Regions from separate parts of the Homo sapiens genome. Here regions 2 and 3 are each linked to region 1. Evidence: promoter capture Hi-C in human tissues and cell types (Jung and others, 2019). All regions are on one chromosome and are shown on one strand. The core of a region is centred on a gene start or on the middle of the fragment in contact, and the rest is flanking DNA. Distances in the headings are between cores, read along the strand shown.

What was found. The method cuts DNA at HindIII sites, captures the fragments that hold promoters and counts their contacts. A contact is called where the count stands out against the background at its distance.
Region 2: a fragment that was not itself captured here is called in contact with the fragment with the promoter of ZBTB43 in region 1 in 1 of the 25 tissues and cell types used here (dorsolateral prefrontal cortex).
Region 3: a contact is called between a fragment that was not itself captured here and the fragment with the promoter of ZBTB43 in region 1, in 1 of the 25 tissues and cell types used here (dorsolateral prefrontal cortex).

Annotation. Positions count from the first base shown.
Region 1 is chr9:126,803,715-126,806,414 of GRCh38, forward strand. It overlaps ZBTB43 (zinc finger and BTB domain containing 43), which reads left to right and starts at 1,326. Exons shown (of 3, transcript NM_014007.4): 1 at 1,326-1,418. RefSeq lists a silencer at 941-990 and enhancers at 1,052-1,553, 1,621-1,680, 2,091-2,200, 2,351-2,500. The HindIII fragment of the contact is 16,594 bases long and covers 1-2,700 here.
Region 2 is chr9:125,614,715-125,617,414 of GRCh38, forward strand. The region is part of intron 4 of MAPKAP1 (MAPK associated protein 1); the gene reads right to left. Among named protein-coding and RNA genes, the nearest start is that of MAPKAP1, 91 kb to the right of the region's middle. The HindIII fragment of the contact is 4,194 bases long and covers 1-2,700 here.
Region 3 is chr9:125,594,525-125,597,224 of GRCh38, forward strand. All of the region lies in intron 4 of MAPKAP1 (MAPK associated protein 1), which reads right to left. It also overlaps the pseudogene HNRNPA1P15. Among named protein-coding and RNA genes, the nearest start is that of MAPKAP1, 110 kb to the right of the region's middle. The HindIII fragment of the contact is 3,866 bases long and covers 1-2,700 here.

The sequences.
Region 1 (2,700 bases), core at 76-2,575:
AAAAAACAAAACAAAACAAAACAAAACCACAAGGCGGGGGAGCTGGAGCATACATGTTTGAAGTAGAATCTTTGACAAGCTGTTCTGCATCCACTCCCATTTCTGTGCTTCCATATTTGTTTTCTTTCATTTTGTTTTCTAGAAAAAAAAATTTTTTTGGTAGAATTCTCTAGGAAAGCTACACTCCTGTGTCCTAGGGCCCAACAACAAGCAAGACAGGCATAACAGCTGGGAAACCAATCAGCTTAAACTGAGACAGACAATATCAAACAGGCATGTCAGGCCCCACGAGAACATCCACCCTAAATCCAGAAGGCATTATGACCACATCGCTTCAGCTGCCTGGATTTCAGGTATAAATTAGTTCTTCTACAAAGAGGGCACTTGGTCTGTAAACGGGTCCAAAGGTAAGAGTCCCACCGCTAAAGACCTATCTCTCTTCTACACTAACATGGGGGGGCAGTGGGGAAGAAAGGGGCGAGAAGAGGTATGGAGGTTTTGGGAGGGAGTGGGAGAATTGGAGGCTAGAGAGATCGTTTCTGTCCCACCATCTGTGTGACCCCAGTGCCCAGCACAATGCAGCCCACGGAAAGGCACTGGTCCTTTCATTGACCATTTACTGAGCATCTACTACATGCCAAAAAGCGAGATGGGTGCTGTGAAGGCAGAAACGGATTTGGAGATAATCTCCGCCAGGCATACTGAGGTCAAGGTTTTCGTTCGTTTGTTTAGAGAAGAGACGGAGAAGGTCAAGGTGTTTTTGTTTGTTTTGTTGTTGTTGTTGTTGTTGTTTAAGAGTCTTGCTCTGTGCTCAGGCTGGAGTGCAGCGGCGTGATCTCGGCTCACTGCAACCTCTGCCTCACGGGTTCAGGCAATTCTCCTGTCTCAGCTTCCCAAGTAGCTGGGATTACAGGCGCGCGCAACCACGCTCAGCTAATTTTTGTATGTTTTGTAGAGACAGGGTTTCACCATGTTGGCCAGGATGGTCTCGAACTCCTAGCCTCAAGCGATCATCCCCTCTCGGCCTCCCAAAGTGCAGGGATTACAGACGTGGGCTACCGCGCCTGGCCTATGCCAAGGTTTCAAGAAGGTTTAGAACTCAGTATCTGCTCCCCTATTTTCAACAGCGTAGTCAGTCCCTAAAATTGACCCGCTCCAGAGTGTACTGCGCAGGCGCCCGCTACCTCCGCGCTCTCTCCCGACGCCCAGCTCAGACGGTAAGTCCCGCATGCGCACTCCGCTTTCTCTCTGACGCACCCCCGGAAGCACTGTCAGTTTCGGGGGGCGGGACCGGGAAGCGTTTCCGGGGGCTGAAGGCACAGGCTGAATCTGTTGCGGCAGCTGAGGCTACAACAGGCCTGCGCCGGCGGCAGAGAGGATATCTTGGGCGGGGGATGTGAGCGCTGAGCCCTTGGCAGGTACTGCGTGGCCAGGACCACGGGCGGCAAGGGTAGGGGAGGAGAAGTCGGTGGGGGAGTTAAGGGCTCCTCAGCAGGCCCCGACGCTCGCGCCGCTGGCCCCGCCAGGCCCATTCCGTGGACCGGCATACCAAAGCCCCGCGCGGGAGGTTGGGGTCCCGGCGCTCCAGCTCCGAATCCCGCAGTCTTCTGCCCACACGGCGCGCAGACCGCGATACCGAGGCCTTTGGGGCAGCTTCTCGCCCAAGGTCACCCTCGCGGCGGCGGAGCTCCGCCGGCCACAGCGCTTAGAGATCCCGCCCCCGTCCGTCCGCTGGCCTTTCGGGGCGTAGGGTGGGCGCGGCTTGACGACCTCGGGTTCGAGCCACCAATGCCTGAGGCCTGACGAGCCGAGCTGGGAGAAAGACTGCGCCTGGACTTAGCTGATCTTCTGTTTAAGTAAAACATTCAGCATCCCCTGTTGCTGTCTCTGTCACCTGTTGTAACCTGCCCTTTTTGTCTTTCAGCTAGGTCGCTGTCAACCTGATATTTCTCTCCACTTTGTCTTTGTCGGGGTATCTGGATCCTGTTTTATATCTGTCTCCACCTTGCTTCTGTGTCTGTTCACCCTGTCTCTGCCACTCAGCCCTTACTCTAATTCAGGGCCTGTCAGTCTGGCTTTTTGGCCATCTGTCTGTTTCTCTCTTTCTGCCAACTTTGTTTTTGCCTCTTGTCTCTCTTTCCTGAGTTTGGGTGGGGCAGGGCTGCCCAGACCTCTGAGCCATGGAAGGTGACTCATGACCCCGTGAAGTTCCCTGCACTGGTGACACTCTCAGTGACTCGACCGCAGTTTGGCCTCAACTCTGACAGGTGTCGCCCAACATAAGTGTCAGAGTGCAGGAGAGCCTGTCAGGGAGACAGGAGGCCCATTTTAGGGCCAGAGCAGCTTGATGAGTCCTCTCCTTTTCTCGCCTGTGGTTTCTCAGGCCTGCACAGCTTCCCAAATGCCTTCGCTCTATCCACTCACCACAGGATGGTCTCCAGGGATCTCTGGAGCCTGCTCTTTGAGTTACAGCTGTTTAACAGGCCTGTCTACAGGCTAAGAAAGGATCAGACTGAGGTCTTTGGGGCTACTGGAACAGTAGCAGGGTTTCTGGGATAACTGCATGCTTAGTTCAGAGATTGTGTCAGCATTTTCAGTTAAATTATAAGAAACCTAATAATTGGGAATTTATTATTTGCTTTATAAAAGCACCACGGGAGAAATAAACCACACACAAAAGGACAAATGTTGTTTGAGAGC
Region 2 (2,700 bases), core at 192-2,691, 1.2 Mb before region 1:
TACAGTTGAATGTACATGATTTAAAAAGTAATAATTATTGTAGCTAACTAGGAACAGAAAGGACTTTTATTAACCCAACATAGAACATCTGCTAAAATAGGAAATATCCTAAATGGTGAAATATTGGAAACATTTCCTTTGATATCAGAAGCAAGACAATTTCTTTTCAACATGGTATTGTGAAGCAATAAAAAGAATTTTTTAAATTTTCAGCTCTGTAAAGCAAGAAAAATAAAGTATAAGGATTAGAAATAAAACTATCATTATTTGCAAATGACCAACTACACAGAAAACCAAAAAAGGTATAAGTTAATGGAAGTTATAGGAGTTTATTAAGGTTACTGACATTAAATCAATGTCAAAGAAATCAACTACATTTCTATATACCAGCAACAAACCGGAAGACACTATAATTTAAATAAAATCTTGAAAGTAGAATTTAAAAATATATTTAATAATAGGTATATGTGAATCAATCTAACAACAATGACAAACTATATATATATATGACTTCCATGGAGAAAATGATAAAATTTTACTAAAGATATTATAGGTCACTTAAATGATATATCATGTTCAAAATGGTAAAGATGCCAATTCTCCCAAATTGATCTACAAATTTAATCCAACTCTAATCAAAATCTCAGGAATTTTTTTTAACTTGACAAGTGATTTTAAAAATGTATATATGGAAGGGGCTGGGCATGGTGGTTCACACCTGTAATCCCAGCACTTTGGAAGGCCGAGGTGGGTGGATCACCTGAGGTCAGGAGTTCAAGACCAGCCTGGCCAACATGGCAAAACCCCACCTCTACTAAAAATACAAAAAAAAAAAAAAAAAAAAATCAGCCATTGTGTAGCAGGGCAATAGGTTAAGAATATACAAGACACTCACAAATAACAAAAAGGAGGTTGAGGCCTGGCACAGTGGTTCATGTCTGTAATCCCAGCACTCTGGGAGGCCAAGGTGAGTGGATAACTTGAGGTCAGGAGTTCAAGATCAGCCTGGCCAACATGGCGAAACCCCATCTCTACTAAAAATACAAAAATTAGCCAGGTGTAGTGGTGCATGCCTGTAATCCCAGCTACTCAGGAGGCTGAGGCACGAGAATCACTTGATGTTGCAGAGGCGGATGTTGCAGTGAGCCAAGATCACGCTGCTGCACTCCAGCCTGGGCAACAGAGTGGGACTCCGTCTCAGAAAAAAAAAAAAAAGAAAAGAAAAGAGAAAAGGAGGTTGAAGGAGCATGATTTATCAGTTACCAGAAATTGCTTTACATTTAAAGTAATTAAAATAGTGTGATATTAGCACAGGAAAAACCAAATAAACAATTGAAACAGAAAAGTCCAGGAAGAGCAGCACAAACATAGGGAAATTTGATATATGACCAAGCGAGCATGACAAACCAATGGGGAAAGGTGGGACTCAATAAATAATGCCACAACAACTGATTAACCACACAGAAAAAAACAGAAATCAGACCTCTACCTCACTACCACACATGCAAAAAATCAGTTCCAGATGGATTAATTATTTAACTATAAAAACTTTAAATACAATTTGGGAAAATAACTTTATAATCTTGAGGGTAAAGATTTCTTAGAACACAAAAAGCAATAATGAAGCAAAAGACTGATAATTCAATACATTAAAAACAAGAATTTCTGTTCATTAAAAAGCACCAAAAAGAGAATGAAGACAAGTCACAAACCAGGAGAATCTACAACAGTTGCTACCCAATACATAAAAATGGTTAGTATCCAAACATACATTCAAATTTCTTCTTCAAATCAGGAAGAAATTGATTAAAATAGAAAAAAGATTAGAACAAGTAGTTCACACAGAAGAGGAAACATGAATAACCAATAAACACACAAAAAGATGTTCAATTTCAATTATATTCTGAGAAATGCAAATGAAAATCATAATGAGATACAATTTCACACCCATAAGACTAGAAAAAACTAAGTCTGATGTGGGAGCACAACACTGACGCACTGCTGGAGGGGCACACATGGGAATAACCACTTTGTAAGACAGTTTGGCATTATCTATAAGCTGAAGCTGCACATAGATCCCATGACCCTGTAAGTCCATCTGCATGTATTCCCTAACAAAGTTTTCAAACCATGGTCCTGAGGGCTAGGAAATCAATTTAGCCAATTTCAACCAATCTTTTCTTTTAAAATTAAATAAAATAGAATTGATTAGAATAAAAAATAGCATGCATTTGTACTTAGTAAAGGTTAAGTATTTTTCTATGAAAATAGTTTCCATATATCATTTATCTATATGTGCACTTAATATGCATGTTATGTGTTTCTATTTGTGTGTGTGTGAAGTGACAGATATTTTAATTAAATTAATGTAATCATTCCACAATGTATGCATAGATCAAAACTTTCATGTTATACCCCAAAATGTATTTCTTATTACATATGATTCATGGCCAAAATGTTTGTAGATCGGGCACAATGGCACATGCCTGTAATCTCAGAACTTGAGAGGATGAGACAGAAGGATCGCTTAAGCCTTGGAATCTGAGACCAGCGGAGGCAACAAAAGGAGATCCTGTTGCTACAAAATTTTTTTTTAATTAGCCAGGCGTGGTGGCAAGTGCCTAGCGTCCTAGCTACTACTGAGACTGAGTTGGAAAGATTGCTTGAGCCTGGGAGACCTAAGCCACAGTGAGCCATGAT
Region 3 (2,700 bases), core at 139-2,638, 1.2 Mb before region 1:
CCTGCCACAAAGTCACTGATCAAGAAACATAGCTCTTCTTCTGTCCTTCAATTCAAATATCACCTCTTCCAAGAAGGTAGAAGACGAAATAAATTCCCTCTTCTCTCCTCCCCTAACAATTTGATTTGCACAGACTTACAGTTTCACTTTTTTCTGTAACTACCCTCACCACCTCCTTCCCCACACTCTCTCATTCAGCTGTGAATTACATAAAGGGAAAAATAGCCTCATCCATTTTGTATTCTCTTAGAGCCTAGAACACAGCAGGGGTTTCATGCTAGCTGGCTAAATCAAAAGGACTCCTCAGACTCTCTTTCAGAATGGACCCACCGGACCTACCAATTCTCTATCCCAGGTAGAGCAGCTATACCTTTTCTACTTCCCAGCCCCTGTTCTTCAGGAACACTCTTTCCTCTCTGAAATATCCCCAGCACCTAACAAAGGGCCCGACATAGTTACTTACACATACTGATGGAATAAATGATTAATATTCTTTTAACACATGATTTAAACACTTGCATTATATTATAGCATATGGTGGTACCACCTATTCTCCCATTTTTAGAAATGGAAGCTGTTTACAATATTCCATTATTATAAATAATCTCATAAACATTTTCCTATATAAATGTGAAAATATTTCTAGAAGTAGATTACTAAGTCAAAGACTATGAATGTTTTGTAACTTGTGATATATACTGGAAAAGCTCAGTCTTTTAAAAAGTGTCTCTAGGCCAATTATGAAATATCAATACTATGAACCAAAGGTTACCCAATTAATAATTAGCTCATAAAATGGGTAAACTTAAAAATCTAAAATAACTTCTAATACACAGAATGTGAACAGATATAGAATTGAAATGTATGTATTTGAACATGCTGATGAATTAAAACATTATCTAGAGCAGCTTTTCTCAGCTGATCCTATTAATTAAAATAATATACATTAGCTGCTTATCATAAAATTAATTTCAAAATCATATACCTGATAGTTTCCAAAGTAGGAGAAGCAATAAGAATACAGATGGGATTCAGTTCAAAATAATCTTGAATTAAGAAATATCATGCTATGTTTGTCAGCTTACTCCTTTCTGCCTGTGGACACGCCAAGGAAGCATCGTTAAAGTCTCTCTTCTCCCTGCCGTCCTAAGTCAGAGTCTCCTAAAGAGCCGGAACAGCTAAGGAATCTCTTCATTGGAGGGTTGAGCTTTGAAACAACCAATGAGAGCAAGAGGAGCCATTGTGAGCAATGGGGAACGCTCCCAGACTGTGTGGTAATGAAAGATTCCAACACCAAGCGTTCCGGGGGTTTTGGGTTTGTCACCTATGCCACTGTGGAGGAGGTGGATGCAGCCATGAATGCAAGGCCACACAAGGTGGATCGGAGTTGTGGAACCAAAGAGAGCTGTCTCAAGAGAAGATTCTCAAAGACCAGGTGCCCACTTAACTGTGAAAAAGATATTTGTTGGTGGCATTAAAGAAGACACTGAAGAACATCACCTGCGAGATTATTTTGAACAGCGTGGAAAAACTGAAGTGATTGAAATCACGACTGACCGAGGCAGTGGCAAGAAAAGGGGACTTGCCTTTGTAACCTTTGATGGCCACGACTCCGTGGATAAGACTGTCATTCAAAAACACCATACTGTGAATGGCCACAATTGTGAAGTTAGGAAAGCTCTGTCAAAGCAAGAGATGGCTAATACTTCATCCAGCGAAAGAGGTCGAAGTGGTTCTGGAAACTTTGGTGGTGGTCGTGAAGGTGACTTCGGTAGGAATGACAACTTTGGTCATGGAGGAAACTTCAGTGGTTGTGGTGCCTTTGGTGGCAACCATGGTGGTGGTGGATATGGTGGCAGTAGGGATGGCTATAATGGATTTGGTACTGATGGAAGCAATTTTGGAGGGTGGTGGAAGCTACAATGATTCTGGCAATTACAACAATCAGTCTTCAAATTTTGAACCCATGATGAAAGGAAACTTTGGAGGCAGAAGCTCTGGCAGCTATGGTGGTGGAAGCCAGTACTTTCCCAAACCACAAAACCGAGGTGGCTATGGCAGTTCCAGTAGCAGCAGTAGCTACAGCAGTGGCAGAAGATTTTAATTACTGCCAGCAAACAAAGCTTAACAGGAGAGGAGAGCCAGAGAAGTGACAGCGAAGCTACAGGTTACAACAGATTTGTGAACTCAGCCAAGCACAGTGGTGGCAAGGCCTAGCTGCTACAAAGAAGACATGTTTTAGACAAATACTCATGTGTATGGGCAAAAAACTCGAGGACTGTATTTGTGACTAATTGTATAACAGGTTGTTTTAGTTTTTCTTCTGTGGAAAATGTAAAGCATTCCAACAAAGGATTTTAATGTAGATTTCTTTTTTGTACCCATGCTGTTGATTGCTAAATGTAACAGTCTGATCATGACGCTGAATAAATGTGTCTTAAAAAAAAAAAAAAAAAAGGCCAGGCGCGGTGGCTTATGCCTGTAATCCCAGCACTTTGGAGGCCAAGGCGGGCAGATCACGAGGTCAGGAGATCGAGACCATCCTGGCTAACAAAGTGAAACCCTGTCTCTACTAAAACAAATACAAAAAATTAGCCGGGCGTGGTGGTGGGCGCCTGTAGTCCCAGCTACTTGGGAGGCTGAGGCAGGAGAATGGCGTGAACCCAGGAGGTGGAGCTTGCAATGAGCCGAGATCGTGCC